Linked DNA regions of Homo sapiens: all the other regions are linked to region 2. Evidence: promoter capture Hi-C in 16 types of primary human blood cells and fetal thymus (Javierre and others, 2016). All regions are on one chromosome and are shown on one strand. The core of a region is centred on a gene start or on the middle of the fragment in contact, and the rest is flanking DNA. Distances in the headings are between cores, read along the strand shown.

What was found. The method cuts DNA at HindIII sites, captures the fragments that hold promoters and counts their contacts. A CHiCAGO score of 5 or more calls a contact.
Region 1: a fragment that was not itself captured here is called in contact with the fragment with the promoter of FBXO30 in region 2 in 1 of 17 cell types (neutrophils); the score reaches 6.9 in neutrophils.
Region 3: a contact is called between a fragment that was not itself captured here and the fragment with the promoter of FBXO30 in region 2, in 1 of 17 cell types (fetal thymus). The highest score is 5.2, in fetal thymus.

Annotation. Positions count from the first base shown.
Region 1 is chr6:146,692,977-146,697,109 of GRCh38, reverse strand. The region is part of intron 12 of ADGB (androglobin); the gene reads right to left. Among named protein-coding and RNA genes, the nearest start is that of ADGB, 96 kb to the right of the region's middle. The HindIII fragment of the contact is 5,580 bases long and covers 1-4,133 here.
Region 2 is chr6:145,811,990-145,816,105 of GRCh38, reverse strand. It overlaps FBXO30 (F-box protein 30), which reads left to right and starts at 1,311. Exons shown (of 3, transcript NM_032145.5): 1 at 1,311-1,503. All of the region lies in intron 1 of EPM2A-DT (EPM2A divergent transcript), which reads right to left. RefSeq lists enhancers at 221-290, 1,348-1,902 and a silencer at 1,131-1,670. The HindIII fragment of the contact is 9,786 bases long and covers 1-1,880 here.
Region 3 is chr6:146,713,182-146,717,623 of GRCh38, reverse strand. It overlaps ADGB (androglobin), which reads right to left. Exons shown (of 36, transcript NM_024694.4): 14 at 2,209-2,242; 15 at 555-741; 16 at 25-88. Among named protein-coding and RNA genes, the nearest start is that of ADGB, 120 kb to the right of the region's middle. The HindIII fragment of the contact is 1,261 bases long and covers 2,454-3,714 here.

The sequences.
Region 1 (4,133 bases), core at 402-2,901, 880 kb before region 2:
CTTCATTGTTCTTCATTGTCTTTGCTGTTGTATTTAGTTAGTCTTTTTTTTCCCTATGAGTGACACACCCAGTTTTCCACATTTCTATGACAATCATTTAATCTTGTAATTTAATTAGCTGGTAATAACCGAAAATATTCATCAGTGCTAATGATTAAAGTAGGTAAGATGCTTTTTTGTTGTTCTAAAACAGTAGCCAAATCTGTAAAGACAGACAGATTTTCCCATCAGCATAATTACTAGAAACAAGAAAAAAAATTAGAGTACTTCTAAATATGAAATACACCAAGCCTCTCTGGCTCTCTTCTGTCTCCAGGCAATATCCCAGTTTCTTATCACCACCTTTAATCTCTCACCAGCTTGCACTCTTACATTGTCTACTCCTTTTAGGAACATAATTTGAGCAGCTTTGACATCTCACCAAAGCAGTAAAACAAACAATGTGAAAGAGAAAAGTGAGGGCATTTTTCAATAGTATCTTTGTTTTACATATAATATTTTCATATCACTTTATTTTTACAGTCAGAGTTTTCATTGATTAATTAATACATTTTTCCTCACAAAAACAGTGCCCTTTCTAGTTAATCCTCTGTGTCCCCTCAATACTTTATTTAAATATCCTTGGAATAAGGGGGCTCATTTAATTTATTTTTTTAAGTTTTATGATGCTAAAGAACATTTGAAGTAGGCCTTATTTCAACCAATTCAAAATTTATCTTAAAATAAGTATTTCTGGCTGGGCACTGTGGCTCACACCTGTAATCCCAGCACTTTGGGAGGCCAAGGTGGGTGGATCACCTGAGGTCAGGAGATAGAGACCAGCCTGGCCAACATGGTGAAACCCCATCTCTACAAAAAATACAAAAATTAGCCGGGTGTGGTGGCACACACCTGCAATCCCAGCTACTTGGGAGGCTGATGCAGGAGAATCACTTGAACCTGGAAGGCAGAGGTTGCAGTGAGCCAAGATTGCTCCACTGCACTCTAGCCTGGGCAGCAGAGCAGACTCCATCTCGGGAAAAAAAAAAAAAAGTATTTCTTACTATAAAAGGGAACTTAAGAAATATTGCTTTTGTATAATCACTGCAATGACACAAATTTTAGTATATTTGTCATGAAAGCATACATTTTTATTTATTAAATAAAATTGATTTAAAAGGTTGAAGTTGAAATGCTTTAACTATTAGGACAATTACATTCAACTGGTCTTCTCAATAGGGCAAAGAAAATGCCACTTAGTTATGTTGCATTATATGAATGAATGAGCTTTTCATTTTAATCTATGAATAGTAATATGGGTTAAAATAATAAAAACTAAAAATAATATAATACTGTTATAGTAAAATGCTACAATTATGGACAGGTCACTTGTTCATTCCTTTTAATATTTAGAAGAAACTTATGCAATGATGAAAATGTTCACTTAGAACATTTGACTACTGAGAACTTAAAATGTTGCTAATGCAACTAAGGAAATTAATTTTTAATTTTATATAATATTAATTAACTTAAAAAATTTTACATAGCCCCATGTGCCTAGTGCCTACCATACAGGAAAGAACATAATTTTAAATACTGAATAACTTAGGTGCTTCAAAATATTTTAATATTTTAATCAATTCAATTAATATTTACTTAATACCTATGATTTACTTAATGCCTATGATTTCCAAGTTACTATGTTAAATATCCAATTGTTACAGTGTAGATACAAAGCCCATATGCTAACTGTTAATGTCTTTATTATAAGTATATACAAAGCAACGTTAACTAATTCTAAAAATTTGGTGATGTTACTCATTACACCCAGAAAATTACAAACAAATTTGGAGAAGGGAAGGCTATTGGAAGCAGACAATATTAAGAACTGATAAAGACATCATTAGTACTATGAAAGCAAAATTAAAACTACAACTAAGCCAATCACTGAAACAAAGCCCCGGAAAAGCCAGTAGTCTCAGGTCATTGAATGTTAGGGTCATTGTTCCTCAAAGTCCTTGAGGTCCCTCTGTTAGAAGACAGTATAGTAATAATGCTAAGTATGATTCATCCAGGAAGCAAGGAAGGCTTTGAGTATGCTCTACTTAAGAAGGAAAGACATTATTTAATATATTAATAATGTGTATATTACAAGTGGTTAATTTAGCCCAAATTTTGACTAAATTAATGACACTGTTGATAACATTGCATTGCATTTCTATTATATTGCAGTATCAGTTAGGACTGCTTGTGTCCAAGTGACAGAAGGCTAATTCATAGTAGCTTTAATAAGAATAGAAATTCCACTGGCTTTTGTAACTGAAATGTCCAGTGGGACTGGAAAATAACTTACACAGTATTTTTTTACACATCTAGAAACCTAATAATAAGAGAATGGAGTGGTGCATATATAATTGTTGTCAAATATTTGAAGATTTTTCATGTAGATAGGGAGCTAAAAAAGCTGCAATGTATTATTTTAGGAGTTTTATATATTATTCATTTTAGGGGAAGAACTGGATGAATTTACAAAACACATCAACAGAACACACTACTTGCTAGATGAAGGGGAAGGAAGGTGCTATGGTCTGAAGGTGTGTATATACTTCTGCCATCAAATTTATATGTTGAGATCCTAAACCCTGAAATAATGGTATTAAGAGGTGAGGCCTTTGGGAGGTGACTCAACCTGCATGCATGGCATTAGTGTCCTTGTAAAAGGTACCCCAGAGAGCTCATTCACCCCTTCCACTAGGTGAGTACACAGTGGTAAGATGCCATGCATGAGGAAGCAGACCCTTGCCAGAAATTGACTCTGCTGGCGTGCAGTTCTTGGACTTCCCAGCCTCTAGAAGTATGAGAGATAAATTTTTTGTTATTTACAAGCCACAAGTCTATGGTATTTTGTTATAGCAGCCCAAACAGGCTAAGACAGAACATGAATGCTAGCAAGTGGGATTGCTGCTATGGTAACTACCTAAAATGTGGAAGCAGCTTTGGAACTGGGTAATAAAGGCTGGAAGAGTTTGGAGGTACATGCTAAAGAAAGCCTACATTGCCATGAACGGACCTTTAAAGATGATTCTGGAAAGGGCCCAAAAAGGAAAGAAGAGAGCTATAGAGAAAGCCTCAATCTTCTTAGAAAATATATACGTGTCTGTGAACTAAATTCTGGTAGAAATATGGATAGTAAAGGCCATTTTGATGAGGTCTCAAATGGAAATTAGGAACATGTTATTGGGCCATGGAGGAAAAGCCACCCTTGTTAGGCAAAGACTTTGGCTGATTTTCTGTGTTCCAGTGTTTTGCGGAAGGTAGAACTTGTGAGCAGTGAAATTAAATATTGGATTGAGGAAATTTCTAAGCAAAGTGTTGAAAGTGCGGCGTGGCTTCTCTTGACTCCTTATAGTAAAATGCTAGAAAAAAGAAATAGATTTGGACAATTCTCAGCCTATCCATATTGGGAAAAATGAGAAAGCCTATTTGAAAGAGAACAAGGAAGATGTGGAAACCACTTCCACACTTTCAGATATTTGTTACAGCTGCACCCTACTTCTCTGTACCAAAGTCCGTATTTGTTTGCTCGGGCTGCCGTAACAAAATACCACAGGTTAGGTGGCTACCATAGGAGAAATCTATTTTCTCACATTTCTGGAGACTGGAAGTCTGAGACCAGTCAGGATGGGTGCCAGCAGGGTTTGTTTCTTATGAAGACTCTCCTTCCTGCCTGCCAACAGCTGCCTTCTCTGTGTGCTCACGTAGCCTTTCCACTGTGTGTGTGCCTGGACAGACAGAAAGAGACAGAGAGAGAGAGAACTCTCTGGTGTCTCTCCTCAGAAGGTCACTAATCCTCTCAGATCAGTACCCCTGCCTTATCACTCATTTCACCTTAATTGCTTGCTTAGAGGCTTTACCTCCAAATGCAGCCACACTGGCAGGTCAGAACTTTAACCTATGAATTTGGTGGGCATACAAACATTCAGCTCATAACACACACAAGAAATTAGTAAAAACTATTTGTTAATTAAGTGGATTAATGTAACTACAAGCTATAAAAGGTCAAGAAAATGTCCTTTTAAAGTTTTTACATGTATTTGGGCTTATTTTAAAATTACTATTCTTCAAAATGCTCCCATTTGGTGTTATCTTTAGCC
Region 2 (4,116 bases), core at 62-2,561:
GCATTGAGCGGGGCTATAGTGTAGCAGCACCTACATCCTCTCCCACTGGGCCATCCTGCCTGTTTCCCCATCCTGACCATGTAGCTCTCTGGACAGTGGCTCTCAAGGTCTGAACCGAGGACCAGAGCCTGTCTACAGCCAAATCAGGCAAAATAAGGGGAACAGATAATTTTTCAAAAAGTTAATCATTTAAGGAATCAACCTTTACTCTGTAATCTAAGTTCCTAACTCAGTTTTTGTTTTGTTTTGTTTAATTTACGGATCTGAAAAACCCACAGGCTTTCTCTGTAGGATAGCAAATTATGTGTGAGCTCTCTTTCCCAAAGCACAACAGCAAGGGGTAAAGATGCAGCCACAAAAAGGATGACAACAGTGTTTTCCTGGCTCTGCCCCCATCCCCACTGCCAGGATTACAACCATCTTTCCTTTGTTGTAATTCTCTTGCGACGGGGTGGGCAGGAGTCCCCGACAGAGGGGTGGGGGCGGGTGAGCGGCTCCCAACACCCAGAGCTCGGAATCACTGTCCCTCGGCCGTAGACCAAGGCTTGGTGGTGGTAGCGGGGGCGTGGACATCCATCCATTCTTTGATACAGCCCTGTGGGATTTCTTTACTCCCCAGTCATATGTAAGGTACACTGCAAAAGCGGCTTCAAGTCCCCTCCCCAGCTAATTACCTTCGCGGAATGACGCCTCGGCCCCTCACAGAAGCAGACCCTGGTGGGCTGTCCCGTCCGGGCTCCAGAGAGGCTCCGCCGCCCGCCGGGATCCAGGGCTGAGCTCTCCCGGGGGGAGGTAAAACCCGACAGGGGATAACGGGTCACAGCACCGTCCTGGCACTAAGTCACGGGACTTGGGCACGCTGAGTTAGCCGGCGGGAAGGCCTGTGGCGGCAATCACCAAAGGTCGAGCAAGGGCGCACCCATTTCCTCCAAAAATGAGCTAAAGGGAAAGCAGTGCCCCAGAGTCAAGGGATCGGGGCTGCTGCTCCTTCGACTAGCGGCGCGAACAAGTCATGCTACTTGGGCCTGTTTCCTCAACTGTAAAATGAGGGGTCTAGGATTCCCTCTGGGAATGTACGATTCTAAAATCGAACAGGGTTTGGTAGCACCGCCGGGGCGGAGCCTTACGGGGCGCCGCGGGAATCCAACGACAGGACTCGCCACAGTGGGAGCTCTCTCCAGACCCTACTCTAGCCACGACGCTGCGGGGTCAGAGGGCGGCGTGCGCGTCCCCGCCGGGACTGCGTGCGCGTCCCCGCCCAGCTGTCGGCAGAAGCCGGGCCGGGTGGGCGGGGCGCAGCGGGGCGGGGCGCGCGAGGAGGGTGGCTGCCTCTGGAGCAGGCCGGGAGAAGAGAAAAGGCGGCGGCCCGGCTGGGGAAGAGGGGCGGAGGAGGCGGTTCGGACGGCTGTGTGGGGTACGGAGCGTCGCCGGGACAGAGCGGAGCAGCTGGGCACGGCGTCCAGGGCAGCTAGGGCCTGGGCCGCGGTTCGGCCGCGCCGGCCGGTGAGTGACGGGAGGCCCGCAGGGGAGGCCGGCGCCGTCCGCGCTGCGGCGGGGACGAAGGCAGCGGCCGGGCAGTTTGAGGCCGCGGCCGGGACCGAGGCGCTGGCGCTGGCGGCCGTGGGGTTGACGGGCCCGGCCTGGAGCAGAGGAAAGGCGGCTGACCCCGGTCCATGCGCGTCCCGGGTCGGCCGTCCGGGCGCCCTGAGAGGGCGTCCGCCGCGCTCGTGTCCTCGCCGGGCCGCATGCCGGGCCAGCCGTTGAGGTCAGCAAATGGCGACTTAAGCCTCGAGGGCACCGACCTCCGTGTCCCCCCCAGTTTGTGTGTCTTTGTATTGGGAAGGGACGAAGGAGGAGTTAAACTTAGGGAACCCTAAGCTTCTCGTTCCGTCTGGTTTTTAGAAACTTGGGTTATTTGGGGACAAATGGCTTAAAGTAAGACTGGGGAGGCATCATCCACTGTCTGCACGGGATGAGCAAAGTTGGTAACTTTGCCATTCATGGAAGTGAGAGGATCTTAGCCTTAGCCTCGGTCCTTATTAAAGGGGAACTTCCTTATTTTGCAGACCTGAGGTTATTTGTGTTGTTCCAAGACCTGCGCCTTGGAACTCCTTTGCTTGGAAGGGGTTTATAGAGCGCGTGCTGAATTCAAAGTAATCTGCCAGTATGTTTTTAACGGGTATATTTGGGAGTATAGAGGCAAAGAGGCAAAACAGTATGTGTTTACCAATGTCCTAGTACTCCATTTCCCTCTCCCTTTCTCTTGTTTTTCTTATTGAGCCCTGTTGTAAGTCCCAGATAAAAGATGCTTGGGAACGAATTGACCTTTTATTCCATGATTACTTCGTTGACTCTGATCCAAGATGAAGTTATTTATGGGCATTCTGATATCGGTGTAGATTAATTTAAAATCTTTTAATACAAAATCCCAAACTTTTTAAATTTTAATTTCCATTTGCTAAATTTCAATACTGTTTGTTCTTTAGAGACCTATGGAAATTATATTAACAGGTTTTGCATTTGCTCATACTAAGGTTTTCCAAAGCAGTCCAATTGTTGACATGGCAAAAGGAAAAGAGTAGCATAAAATAAACCTTTAGGATTTTTCAGAGGGTTAGATTTCAATATGCGGTTTCCGCTGAATCACTCTTCTTCATGCTTAGTCACTGTTTCTCATCACAAAAGTTTAATTGGGGATAACATGGTGTTTTGCTGACTTTTTAAATTGCCAATTTGTTTTTACCTAGCACTTTAATGCCGTGACGTAACTTTTTTTTTTTTTTTTAATTCTGGAAATGGTGGAGTTTCGTGAATGCTGTAAGAGAACTGAAGTTTCGAATATAGGCAAACTTTAATGTATACCAAGTGTACTAGGTATTTAATTTCAATCCAGTATTTCTCCCGGTCTAGCATTGGGAGACTTCTTCTAAAAAGTGTCCTAATATATCATTAAAAAGCAATATTATATAAGTAATGCTAACGTGTATAGAGAGGTACTTTAAGGTCACCAAAATAGGCATTGGTTAATGCTTACTGTTTGATATAACATGTTTCTAAGATGTGAATATTTTAATGGATAAGCGCTATGCTATTCTGTATGATTTTGGATAAATATTTTAATTCAGTTCCTAAGACTGCTTATTTGATAGAAGGAGTTAGTACATATTATGGAATGTCATTGTATTTGTAGAATTTTTTGACATAAAACAATTGAGTCAAAGGCTGTATAAAATATAAATTCAAATTCAGTGTGATGAAATAGAGGAGATTGGCCTTAGACAAGTTGCTTCTATATTTTAGGTAGCTAGATGTTAGATACAGACAAGCGGATCAGTTAAAACCCAGTCTGTGAAAATCTTTTTTTTAAAGAATGAGTAATGTTATTACTAGGTAGTTCTTCATATGATTGCATTTAATTAATGATCTCATAAAAATAATTACACGTAAAATTTTTGTGTATATAAGTGTGGCTGTTGTGCAAATCGAAGTACATCTGGTTTCTGAGAACTACATGTTTATATCCTATTGGACACACACATAATTGTAAACAATCTTTGTAAAGTTCTAGATTGTTTCCAGAGTAAAGTAATTGCCTCAAGGTCACTAAGCTGAGACTCTTTGGAAGCCCATTCCCTCATGTCATGTTACCTGTTTTAATAAACTGAGTTCTACCGTTTGGGTGGATTATTTTTATCTGAGTATCAACTCAAATAGGTTCTAGTCCGAGTATTAAATATTTATTAATACTATTTCAATTTCCCATGTAAGTCTGTGATTTCATTTACTTATTTAGTGGAGAACGTTGCAAGTAGTTAGATTTCGCTTTGGAATAAGCTACTCATGACCATGACTCTATTTAGAAATGAAAGATATATGTTTTGATATATTTTATCTGGAACAATAAAACATGAAAAAAGTCCATATAATTAGGTCATCCATTTTATAAATAAAAAGAACGAAAGTTTAATAAAAGAATGTACACATTGTAATCCATTTAGCCATTTGGGACTGGAAGCTAGTGCTTTGAGTTGGGAATTTAAGGATAATGCCTTTTTGATTTTGTCTAACCACCGCCCCCCAACCCCACCTCTTTTTAAACAGTAAGATAAGATGCCT
Region 3 (4,442 bases), core at 1,835-4,334, 900 kb before region 2:
TAGAAAAGATTCTAACATACTTACCTTAAATTCTGATTTTTGAAAGTTAAGGCAATATGAACTTGGCTTGTGGAAAATATATATATTTCTGAAAGAAAGACATTTTTAACAGGTTATTGTCATTATAGGCAAAGACTAGTACTACATGTTAAGTTTCTTATAATCAAATTATTGTAGGAAGAAAGTTAAAAAATAACAACAGTATTGGGTCAGTTGCCCTAAAGGGACAAGAATGATTCTAGTGAATAAGATTTCTTCATTTTAATTAAGAAACAAGCCTTTGAGGAAAAGCTGCAACTGGCCTAAGATTGGTTTGGCTATTAATGTGTTATATGGATAATCAATATATTTATTTTCCATTTTATAAATTTTATTTGATATTATACCAACACTAGGCTGTTATTGGCTTATTTTGGATGATGCTAAGAATTAATAGGTTATATAACCACTATATTAAATATGCAAAAATAAATCTTAATGTGACTTTGTATACTAATGCAGCTCAGGGTTTAACCACTACGACATAGTCAGATTGATCCCATTGGTATACTTACTGAAAGCATACACAGAAATCTTCAAAATCTAACCATATTTCTTTAGAAACACTATTATTTGTTGTTGGAAGTTCTTCCTGTGACTTTTCCTGTGTTGCTGTGGTCTGGCTGACTATCTCTCTTTCCAAGTTTAATCCATCACTCTGATGAGCATCACCCAATCCAAAGTCTGTTTGTTCATCTGTGCCTAGAAGACACACATGTCAAACACATCTTATATTGTTAAATAACAAGTTATTGAAATATGTAAAATGATAAAGGGAAACTTAAATATCAAAGTCTATTTTTGGGAAAATATTTATGAGATAATCCAGGCTTCATACATTTATGGAGGTCCACACAGGGACACATTTCATACACAAAGGAGAATTTAATCACAATTTCTATGCATATCAGGGTGTTCAAAAATTTCAGAATTACTTTGACGAATTTGTTCACAGATTCTTTTTTTTTTTTTTTTTTTTTTTTTTGAGACGGAGTCTCGCTCTGTCGCCCAGGTGGGACTGCGGACTGCAGTGGCGCAATCTCGGCTCACTGCAAGCTCCGCTTCCCGGGTTCACGCCATTCTCCTGCCTCAGCCTCCCGAGTAGCTGGGACTACAGGCGCCCGCCACCGCGCCCGGCTAATTTTTTTTGTATTTTTAGTAGAGACGGGGTTTCACCTTGTTAGCCAGGATGGTCTCGATCTCCTGACCTCATGATCCACCCGCCTCGGCCTCCCAAAGTGCTGGGATTACAGGCGTGAGCCACCGCGCCCGGCCCTCACAGATTCTTTAGAGATTGTGAAGTTACAACACAAATTAGCTAGATTCTTTACTGAAAATCTGCTCTAGATGGACATATTCTTATAGGAGGGGGTGGCTCAGACAACAGAAAGGGAAATGAAAACTTGAAAGATCTGGTGCAACAAATGTGTTTCAGTAACACATTTAATCACTCCCCACAGTCAGTGGTTCTAGAGCCTTATTTTATATTTACCAAGTAATGTGGCATACCATTTTTTTTTTTTTTTTTTTGAGACGGAGTCCAGGCTGGAGTGCAGTGGCACGATCTTGGCTCACTGCAACCTCTGACTCCCTGGTTCAAGAGATTCTCCTGCCTCAGCCTCCCAAGTAGCTGGGATTACAGGCACACACCACCATGCCCTGCTAATTTTTATATTTTTAGTAGAGACAGGGTTTCACCATGTTGGCCAGGATGGTCTCGATCTACTGACTTCGTGATCTGCCCGCCTCAGCCTCCCAAAGTGCTGAGATTACATGCGTGAGCCACTGCACCTGGCCGGCATAGCATTCTTAAAGACTTCTGGATCCAAAAATATATATATAATTTTGAATTCAATTCTTGGCCAAGTCTTTTATTTAGGAACTAAGGAATTTGCAGTGGTTTTAGTGTTTCGATCACAGGGTGCAGCATTAAAACACATGAACTTTATTTGTGGGTAATCAGATTCTCTTTCATTTTTATTTTTAGCTTCAATTTAACAATTGAAATTATCTCTTTTTTTAAAGCCCAGAGCAGACTAGACTCAGCAAATCAAAGGAGACACTGAAGAAAGGCTGCTGAGAGCCAGAAGGGAAGCTGTCAAGAAGCAGAGATGCCCCTCTGTATCTTGATGTACATTGAAAAAAGTCACAGGAAAATTATTAATTTACCTTTTCCAAGTATAACTTGTGAAGCAGTATTTCCCTATGAATTAAAAGAAACACACTTTGAATCCAACAAAACATTACAGCTATCCAAAGCACCAAAGTTACTAAAAGAGCTAATATAGTTTTTTTAAACTTTGAAGAAATAGATTTTTGGGAAAATTTACTAAAACCTACCAAAAAAATTTGTTTTTAACTTTAAATGTCAAAGGACATGAATGGAATTAAACAATTGACTGAGTATTTAAGCTTGTCACATTAAGACACAGAATATGTTAATTTACTAAATGATTGAATCTTGTAACAAGAGTTAAATTAAAACAGTAATATCCCTAAGTAGACATATTACTTGGCACAAGGTATCTGCTATTAATATAGATAACTTAATAAGATTATGACTGAAAGTAATGTACAGAACCTAAAAAGGCTGATTTCAATTATAAAAATGGCTCCTGAAAATTTTAACAAGGAATTTAAGTTGAATTCATGTGTATAACTTTTGTTTTAATTATTTAATATCAAATAATTGTGTTCTGGAACACAAAAATAAATATAAAAAGTAAAATGGTATAAACTCATACAGGCTAATTACAGGTAATGTCAACAATATTTTAAAAATTATGTAAAGTGGATGGAAGAGATAGCAGAGTAGAGATAGTTAAATACTAAGTGCAAAGCAAAGCCTATCCATGCCTTAGGACCTCAGAAGCAATTAGCAGGTATCTGAGCAGGAGAGAATGAGACATGGGCTTAAAACACCGACATGGGTTGAATGTCTGTAGAAGGATTTGCACTTCTTCTCCCTAATCTTTCTGGTTCAGCATCCAGTCTTCTTTTGCCTAAACAGCACACTTGAAATTGCTTCAAGTGGAGAAATTAAATGAGAAGTTTCTTAATCTGAACTCACAGATACTCTGGAAGTAGAAGAGTCTACTGTACAGACAACAGAGGAATTAAGTGAAAGTCCACAAGCTAAGTGCTGAGACTTTCAGCTTCTCTGTGCTGCTCGACCTTCATGGATGGACAAGTATATACCATTCCCTGTGATGAACTTTAGAGGACCATTAACTGAGAAACTCACCAGAGTCAGGGGAAAAAAAAAAAAACAAGATGCACATTGGGAGCCAGCCCCACCTCCAAATAAAACTCACTCATCCTCAATTATCCTAAGTTAGAGCCAACAGTTGATAAGCTCTGGCCATGCCATTGAGCTGCTTCTAATCAGCAACTCTTTGGTGCCTTAAATTTCTTAAATATATATGTACAACAAAGTACTGGCAAACAATTGAGGAGAGATTCTTATATGAAAGAAAGAAGCTAACAATTGTGGGTGGCAAGATTCATAGAAAACAGAAACAATATTATGAGGAGTAATTTTTAAAAGATTGGTAATATTGGAAAAATAAGAGGATACTCATCTATCAAATAAGAAACTTCTACAAAAATAATAAAGAACAAGAAAGAGCTCTTAGAAAATAAAAAATAGAATAAGTGGCATAAACAATACAAGCTTTAGGCACTGAAGCGGATACAGACAGAGACAAACTACAAAACTCCTAGAAGAAAACATAGAGAGAAGCTTCATGACACTGGATTTGGCAATTATTTCTTAGATATGACTCCAAAAGCACAGGCAACAAAAGTAAAAAATAGGTAAGTTGAGCATCAAAATAAAAAAAAAGAAAACTTCTGTACATCAAAGGATACAATCAACAGAGTGAGAATGCAACCTACAAACTGGGAGAAAATATTTGCAAATTACATATCTGATAAAGGGAAAATACAAGAATATATATAGAATTTCTAAAAAGAACAAAAACAACAAAATAACCCAAACAATGCAATTAAAAAATGGGCAAATAATTTGAATAGACCCTTCTAAGGAGACATACAAATGGCCAACAGCACATGACAAGATTCTCAATATCATGAATCACTAGAGGAATACAAACCAAAATTACAATGAGACACCATTTCATGCCCATTAGGGTGGCTACCATAAACAATACACATAGAAAATAATAAATGTTGGTAAGGATGTAGAGAAATTTGAGAGGCACTGTTGAGAATGTAAAATGGTGTGGTCACTGTGGAAAACAGTGTGGTGGTTCCTCAAATGATTACCATATCCAGCAATTCCACTCTTAGGTATATTCCCAAAAGCATTGAAAGCAGAGTCTCAAGGAGATAGGTGTACACCCAAATTCATAGCAGCGTTATTCATGATATCTAAAAGGTTG